Regions from separate parts of the Homo sapiens genome. Here region 2 is linked to region 1. Evidence: promoter capture Hi-C in human tissues and cell types (Jung and others, 2019). All regions are on one chromosome and are shown on one strand. The core of a region is centred on a gene start or on the middle of the fragment in contact, and the rest is flanking DNA. Distances in the headings are between cores, read along the strand shown.

What was found. The method cuts DNA at HindIII sites, captures the fragments that hold promoters and counts their contacts. A contact is called where the count stands out against the background at its distance.
Region 2: a fragment that was not itself captured here is called in contact with the fragment with the promoter of DALRD3 in region 1 in 1 of the 25 tissues and cell types used here (adrenal gland).

Annotation. Positions count from the first base shown.
Region 1 is chr3:49,016,196-49,019,983 of GRCh38, forward strand. DALRD3 (DALR anticodon binding domain containing 3) reads right to left here and starts at 2,385. Exons shown (of 12, transcript NM_001009996.3): 1 at 2,205-2,385; 2 at 1,828-2,123; 3 at 1,418-1,674; 4 at 1,239-1,318; 5 at 1,033-1,161; 6 at 579-652; 7 at 417-478; 8 at 234-316; 9 at 1-145. The coding sequence starts at 2,369. RefSeq lists enhancers at 806-875, 1,161-1,932 and a silencer at 1,381-1,615. The HindIII fragment of the contact is 18,150 bases long and covers 1-3,788 here.
Region 2 is chr3:48,887,444-48,891,944 of GRCh38, forward strand. The region is part of intron 2 of SLC25A20 (solute carrier family 25 member 20); the gene reads right to left. Among named protein-coding and RNA genes, the nearest start is that of SLC25A20, 9.2 kb to the right of the region's middle. The HindIII fragment of the contact is 4,581 bases long and covers 544-4,501 here.

The DNA of each region.
Region 1 (3,788 bases), core at 1,135-3,634:
GAGGAAAAGTGGGGTACAGACCTTGTTCCATACTACACTTGTAACTCTCAAAGAGTGTGGCAAGACGGGCACAATTATACATGACAAAGGTGCCACTCTTTGTGCCCTTCGTGGAGATACTGCTGTCAGCCAGAGCCAGGAAGAGCTGGGGAATAGAAGCACAGCTGCAGAGAGAGAAGGCAGCCACCACACCCTGTGCCCCAACACTGGCCCTGTCAGGCTCCCAGGCTCACCTGACTCTGTGGGGCTGTGCTCAGCATCTCAAACTTGATGGTGGCCACAGAGAGAACACCAAAGATCTCTGTCCAGGCTGGGTCTGAGGGAGTATAGGGTTGGTCAGTCAGTCTGCAGGCAAGGGCAGGGATGCAAAAAACCTGCCCCTAACCCAGAACATAGCCAGGGTTTCCCAGGCACACCTTGTGCCAGATCCCCACCATGCTTCAGTGCTGAGGCCTTGCACACCTGGGTATGCCGGAACCTGTGTTTGGAAGAGAGGAAGGCCAGTGGGCAGGGTCCTGGGTAAAGAGTCCCCCCTCATTACCCTGGCTTAGGTTGGTGTTCCTCCCAGCCTCACTCACTCGTAGTACTCAGGGGCAGTCATCAGAGTGCCAGGTGCACCAGCTACTTTCACAGGGCCACAGATGAGGTGCTTCTGTCAGAAAGATGTCAGGGGCTCAGCCTAGTTGGCGCTACTCTCCAGGAAGTCCCTTGAGGAGCCCAAATCTGGTGCCTCTACTCAGCCCAGACTCCCTCAAATTGGAACTGCCAGGTTGAGTGCCTCCGTCTACCCAGCCACTCAGGCTACGCATGGTTCATCCTTCTCAACCTGGTCTTCAGTGTTCTTGGGATGTGTCTACAGACCCCCCTTCCCCAGAGCCTCTGCACCTGCTGTACATGCCCTCTCAAGTCCAGCAACTCCCCCAAGGTCAAGTGTTGGTTTCTGTCAGCTAACAAGCCCCTCGGTGGGTTTTCAAGGGCCCTCTGAGGTTGGGGGTTAGGTGGTGGGGAGCTCCACCATCATTATTAACCTACCTGTCTGAGTGGAGCCTTGTCAACCAACTTCTGCCAAAGCAGGTCCAACTTCTGTTGCTGGAACTCCTCCTCACAGCTAACAACATGTACAACCAGGCAGCCGCCTGTACCAGTATCTGAGGCCCCAGCCTAAGGGAGGACAATCATAACTGTGGAAGTACAGTATACTTGGTTTGGGAGAACCTACAGGGCTGGGAGTCACTAACCAGGCCTGGGTGGCTGTCCTCGGGCCAATGCCATAGAGCCTCTTGCAGCTCAGCCAGCACAGAGAGGAGATCCTCAGTCACTGAAAAGAGAACAGACAGGTGCTGAGACTGACAAGAAGCAGAGATGTGCCCCTAACCCCCTCCTGCCTTTTCTGGCCCTGCTAGGCTTCAGGTCCTACCCAGACAGTTGTCCAGGTTGGGGTCATAGCCAGCTGTGCGGCCCTGTTCTTCCACCAGCTCCTTCAGACACAGTCTGCCTAGGATGCCAGGGGACAGTGTCCTCCCGTCATTAGCAGAGGTAAGTTCTTCAAGGGCGTGGCTCCTCAGGGTGTGGGAGGAAGCTCTCTCCGAGGCAGCGGGCCAGTCCACCCGCAGTTGCTGCAGGAAGGTCAGCATGTGCGGATCCCGCACAGCTGGCACTAGGCGCACGCACACCCTGCGAAGGGAGGGCGGCCGCCTCAGTCTGAGCACCTGGTCCAGCTCGCCACGACTTCCCACCTCCAGCCGCAGTCCCCACGGGCGGCGCCGCTCGCTTTCTAGGTACCCGGCAGTCCCACTTTCTCCATTCCGGCCCCGCGGCCCCGCTCACCCGTGAGCGCGCAGGGCTCGCGCCAGGTGATCGGCCACGAGCACCGTACGCAGCTGGCTCAAGCGGAGTGCGCAGGGGGAGCTGCGCAGTGCTGGGCAGTGTAGTAAGACGCGCTGGCCCAGCGAGGCAGGCGAGGCGGGCGTGGCATAGGCGGCCACGGCGCTGAGGACGCGCTCGAAGACGGCGGACCGCTGCAGTTGGAGAGACAGACCCGCGGGGGTCGGCGCGCAGCGCAGCACCGGGGCCACACCGGGGCCCTGCAGGCAGGCGAGGGCATGGAGCAAATGCTCCGGAACCTGCGGGAGAACGGGCGTGTAAAAGAGCCACGGCACGGGGCCCATCTCCCGGCCGCACGGCCCCGCCCGGCTCACGCCCACCTGGCCGTCATCGAAGCGCGCCTGCAGCGCGCGGTGCGGTGCCAGAAAGTCTCGGGAACGCAGGTGGCGGGTGCGCGTCTCCTTGATCCACACCGGACCGCCTGGCCCCAGGGCCGCGTTGAGGGCCCCCAGCGTCTCCCCGACCCCAAGGCGCCTGGTCGCCATGGTGACCGGAAGGAGTAAGCGGAACCGGAAAAAAATTTAGGGAGGTGGAACTTCCGGAAAGGACCGACTAGCTGGGGCGGGGATGCGGCGGTGGTCCCCGTAAGTGGACAGGTGCGCCAGTGGTAGCCCTGTCGGCTGCTTTCGACCTACCGCCCCCAGCGCCCCTTCCGCGTGGTCCACCTGCACAGCCGGGCCCCGGATCTGAAATCTCGGGGCCCTCCCTGGGCCTAGGGTTCTTTCGCTGTGACCCAGGCCTTAACCAGGAAAAGGATCCTCGCGACCCGGTGGGCGCTTAGACCGGGTACCGTCTCTTCTCATCGAAGTCTCACATGTTTGTTTTAATAACATTTCATTTCTCCCATTTTACACATGATGAATATTCGTCACTGGAATAAGGCAGTATAACATTAAGGCCACTTTCACGACCTACTTAAAATATCTCGTTTTAAAAAGAATAGTGTTCCGCGGTTTCAGGTTATTTGCAAGCATTTTCTCGTTTGAGATATGGGTGTTTTTTTGTTTGTTTGAGACGGAGTCTTGCTCTTGTCTCCCAGGCTGGAGTGCAGTGGCACGATCTCGGCTCACTGCAGCCTCCACCTCCCGGATTCACAGGATTCTCCTCCTCAGCCTCCCGAGTAGCTGGGATTACGGGCGCCCGCCACCACGCCCGGCTAATTTTTGTATTTTTAGTAGAGACGGGGTTTCGCCATGTTGGCCAGGCTGGTCTCGAACTCCTGACCTCGTGACCTGCCCGCCTCGGCCTCCGAAAGTGCTGGGATTACAGGCATCAGCCACTGCACCCAGCCCGGGTGGTCTTTATGCCCAATAAATAAGCACTCTGATACAGTTGGCGGTTTTCTTCTCTTGATACCTGAGAAATCACAACCATCATGATGGCTTCCAGAATTACCAGACTTTTTTTTTTTTTTTTTGAGACGGAGTTTCGCTCCTGTTGCCCAGGCTGGAGTACAGTGGTGTGATCTTGGCTCACCGCAACCTCCCCCTCCCGGGTTCAAGTGATTATCCTGCCTCAGTCTCCCAAGTAGCTGGGATTACAGGCACGCGCCACCACGCCCGGCTACTTTTGTATTTTTAATAGAGACGGGGTTTCTCCATGTTTGTCAAGCCTCGAACTCCCGACCTCAGGTGATCCGCCTGCCTCGGCCTCCCAAAGTGCTGGGATTACAGGCGTGAGCCACCGCGCCCGGCTCAGAATGACCAGCTTTTAATGTGACTCCTTTAACCTGGTGTGCTTTAACAACGATCCTTAAAGCTTCCTGTTTTAGGCAACAGCCATTTACGGGCCAACCAAATAATGCGACCATAATAGAAAATAGGCCTCAGTTGGAGTATCTTGCTCCTCTACCAATAGGAAAGGTCTTTTTCTTTCTCCCACAAAGGTTCCCAAATGTCTTCATT
Region 2 (4,501 bases), core at 1,584-4,083, 130 kb before region 1:
CCCCTAGGCAGGTGTTCAATAACGTCTAATGACCAAGAGGCAGGTAAGCCTACCTTCCTTCTGTAAGGGCAGAGGACTCTAAGTGGACCTGAAGCCTAGAACCTCCATCAGACACTGCTCAGACTCTACCCTGGGCACTAGAGATGTAAGGAGGAGGAGCTTAAAGAAGAAAGAACAAGGCCAGGTGCCATGGCTCACGCCTGTAATTCCAGCACTTTGGGAGGCCAAGGAGGGCAGATCACGAAGTCAGGAGTTCAAGACCGGCCTGGCCAATATGGTGAAACCCCATCTCTACTAAAAATACAAAAATTAGTCGGGCATGGTGGCAGACGCTTGTAGTCCCAGCTACTCGGGAGGCTGAGGCAGGGAGAATTGCTTGAACCCGGGAGGCGGAGGTTGCAGTGGGCTGAGATCGTGCCACTGCACTCCAACCTGGGTGACAGAATGAGACTCCATAAAAAAAAAGAAGAAGAAGAAAGGGCAGGCCAGGCGTGGTGGCTCATATCTGTAATTCCAGCGCTTTGGGAGGCTGAGGCAGGCAGATCACCTGAGCTCAGGAGATTAAAACCAGCTGGCCAACATGGCAAAACCCATCTGTACTAAAATTATAAAAATGAGCTGGGCATTGTGGCAGGTGCCTGTAATCCCAGCTACTTGGGAGGCTGAGGCAGGAGAATCACTTGAACCCAGGAGGTGGAGGTTGCAGTGAGCCAAGATCGGACCACTGCACTCCAGTCTGAGTGGCAGAACAAGACTCCATCTCGAAAAAAAAAAAAAAAAAAAAAAGAAGGGTAGCACCACCTCACTCAAGGACGGTTGGGCAGGCACTGCCTCAAGATCTTCCTAAGCCAGATGCAGTGGCTCATGCCTGTAATCCCAGCACTTTGGGAGGCTGAGGCGGGCAGATCACAAAGTCAGGAGTTTGAGACCAGCTTGGCCAACATGGTAAAACCCCATTTCTACTAAAAACACAAAAATTAGCCGGGCATGGTGGCAGGTGCCTGCAATCCCAGCTACTCGGGAGGCTGAGGCAGGAGAATCACTTGAACCCGGGAGGCAGAGTTTGCAGTGACCGAGATTGCGCCACTGCACTCCAGCCTGGGCAACTGAACAAGACTCTTGTCTCAAAATAAATAAATAAATAAATAAATAAATAAATAAATAAATAAATAGTTTAAAAAGATCTTCCTTCTGCACCCAAGTCCTACAGGAATCCTGGGAACAACTTCGCCAAGGCTGAGTCCATCACTTACTATCACTCCCTTTTTATCTGGATGACTACTACTTAGTTTCTGTATATTTAATCAAGGCTATAAATTTAGAGACTATAATAGAGTGTTTATATGAAAGTTATATTTTAGGGCCAGGCGTGGTGGCTCATGCCTGTAATCCCAGCACTTCGGGAGGCTGAGGCGGGTGGATCATGAGGTCAGGAGATCGAGACCATCCTGGTTAACATGGTGAAACCCTGTCTCTACTAAATATACAAAATTAGCCAGGCATGGTGGTGCATGCCTATAATCCCAGCTACTCAGGAAGCTGAGGCAGGAGAATCACTTGAACCAAGGAGATGGTTCAAGAGATTGCGGTGAGCCAAGATTGTGCCATTGCACTCCAGACTGGACAACAAGAGCAAAACTCCGTCTCAAAAAAAAAAAAGTTATATTTTAGGAAGCAAAGGAAAAGATCTCAATGAGGTCTTTAAGACCTGTGTTAATGAAGTTATTTATTATTATTATTAATATTATTCTTATTTTGAGACAGAGTTTTATTCTTTTTGCCCAGGCTGGAGTGCAATTAGCCAGGCATGATGGCACATGCCTGTAATCTCAGCTACTCGGGAAGCTTAGGCAGGAGAATCTCTTGAGCCTGGGAGGCAGAGGTTGCAGTGAGCCAAGTTCATGCCACTGTAGTCAAGCCTGGGCAACAGAGTGAGACCATGTCTCAAAATATATATATATAATAATAATAATAACTCCAAACCAATTTAATGTCCCTGTCTAGGGGAACTGGAGACTGATAGCTTCTCTCAGTGTTTCTAGGACTGGCTGACTTTTCCTTCAGACTTTATTCATATGCGCTTCTGACATGGATCCCTATCAAACTGACTGATCCAGATGCAGGTGTACATTTTCTTTTTTCTTTTTCTTTTTTTGAGACAGAGTTTCACTCTTGTTGCCCAGGCTGGAGTGCAATGGTGCAGTCTCAGCTCACTGCAGTGTGGGCAAAGGATTACCTAGGTGCCGAGGCAACAGACTGAAGGCACAAACTGTTTCACTATAATAAAGAAAATAGAATAGTTATAATACAAATTAGATATAGAGATGATCATGGACATTATCAATCATTAGTATAAACATTATTAATCATTAGCTTTTAATATTACTCTTTGTTGTATTACTAATATAAACAAGAAATAACCGGCAGGTATAGGGTCCGGTGCTGAAGGGACATTGTGAGAAGTGACCAAGAAGGCAAGAGGTGAGCCCTCTGTCACGCCCGCATAAGGGCCGCTTGAGGGCTCCTTGGTCAAGCAGTAACGCCAGTGCCTGGGAAGGCACCCGTTACTTAGCAGACCATGAAAGGGAGTCTCCTTTCCTTGGAGGAGTCAGGGAACACTCTACTCCACCAGCTTCTTGTGGGAGGCTGGATATTATCCAGGCCTGCCCAGTTTTCCAGAGGCCTAAACCCCTCCCTGTGACGCTGTGCTTCAGTGATCACGCTCCTTGTCCACTTTCATGTTCCTCCCATACTCCTGGTTCCTCTTTGATCTCGCTCTGTCACCCAGGCTGGAGTGCAGTGGCAGGATCTCGGCTCACTGCAAGCTCCGCCTCCTGGGTTCACGCCATTCTCCTGCCTCAGCCTCCTGAGTAGCTGGGACTACAGGCGCCCACCTCCATGCCCAGCTAATTTTTTGTATTTTTTTTAGTAGAGACGGGGTTTCACCGTGTTAGCTAGGATGGTCTTGATCTCCTGACCCTGTGATCCACCTGCCTCAGCCTCCCAAAGTGCTGGGATTACAGGCATGAGCCACCGCGCCCGGCCTGATCTTTCTTATAAGTGCATAGAGGAAAATGCTGATGTATGCTGCCTTCCCTCTCTGCTTCGGCTACCTAAAACAGAAGGGCTCCCTATCCCATGATCACGTGATTTGCCTGACCTTATCAATCACTTGGATAACTCACCCTCCTTACCCTGCCCCCTTGTCTTTTTTTTTTTTTTTTTTTTTGAGATAGAGTCTCGCTTTGTCGCCCATGCTGGAGTGCAGTGGTGTGATCTCAGCTCACTGCAAGCTCCGCCTCCTGGGTTCACACCATTCTCCTGCCTCAGCCTCCCGAGTAGCTGGGACTACAGGTGCCCGCCACGACGTCCGGCTAATTTTTTGTATTTTTAGTAGAGATGGGGTTTCACCGTGTTAGCCAGGATGGTCTCGATCTCCTGACCTCGTGATCCACCCGCCTCAGCCTCCCAAAGTGCTGGGATCACAGGCGTGAGCCAGCGCGCCCAGCCACCCCCTTGTCTTGTATTCAATAAATATCAGCGCGCCCAGCCATGCAAGGCCACTACCAGTCTCCATGTCTTGGTAGTGGTCCCCCCGGCCCAGCTGTTTTCTCTTTATCTCTGTCTTGTGTCTTTATTTCTTATGATCTCTCATCTCCACACATGGGGAAAACATCCGCTAAGCCCCGTAGGGCTGGACCCTACACTGCAACCTCCCCGTCCTGGGTTCAAGCGATTCTCGTGCCTCAGCCTCCCAAGTAGCTGGGACTACAGGCGCATGCCACCGTGCACAGCCAATTTTTGTATTTTTAGTAGAGACGGGGTTTCATGATGTTGGCCAGGGTGGTCTTGAACTCCTGAACTCCGGCAATCCACCCACCTTGGCCTCCCAAAGTGCTGGGATTATAGGCGTAAGCCACCATGATTGGCCTTTTTTTGTTTTTCAGGCAGGGTCTCACTCTGTCACCCAGGTTGGAGTGCAGTGGTGCAATCTTGGCTCACTGCAAACTCTACCTCCTGGTGGAGTGATCCTCCCACCTCAGTCTCCTGAGTGGCTGGGACTACAGATGTACATGCGCTACCATGCCCCTCTAATTTTTGCATTTTTTGTAGAGATGACACTCTCTACATGTTGCCCAGGCTGGTCTTAAACTCCTGACCTCAAGTGATCCACCTGCCTTGGCCCCCAAAGCGCTAGGATTAGAGGCGTGAGCCACCACACCCAGCTCAGATGTACATTTTCTTCCATTTCACATCTCAATTATTACTCACTAGTTCTCCGTCGTCTAAATTCCATCTTCCAAAAGAGAGAACCATTTTATTAGCCTTAGTCATCTGTATAAAACAGTAGCTAGAACTATCAGAGACTCCAAAGCAGATGACAACAGGGGGGCACAGGGTGGCGTGGTGAAGGAGCGGCAGCTGTGAGCTAGCTGTCCAGCAGAACCACACAGTTAACCTACTCTCCTTGGGGGTAACAAATCAACCCCGTGAATGTGTT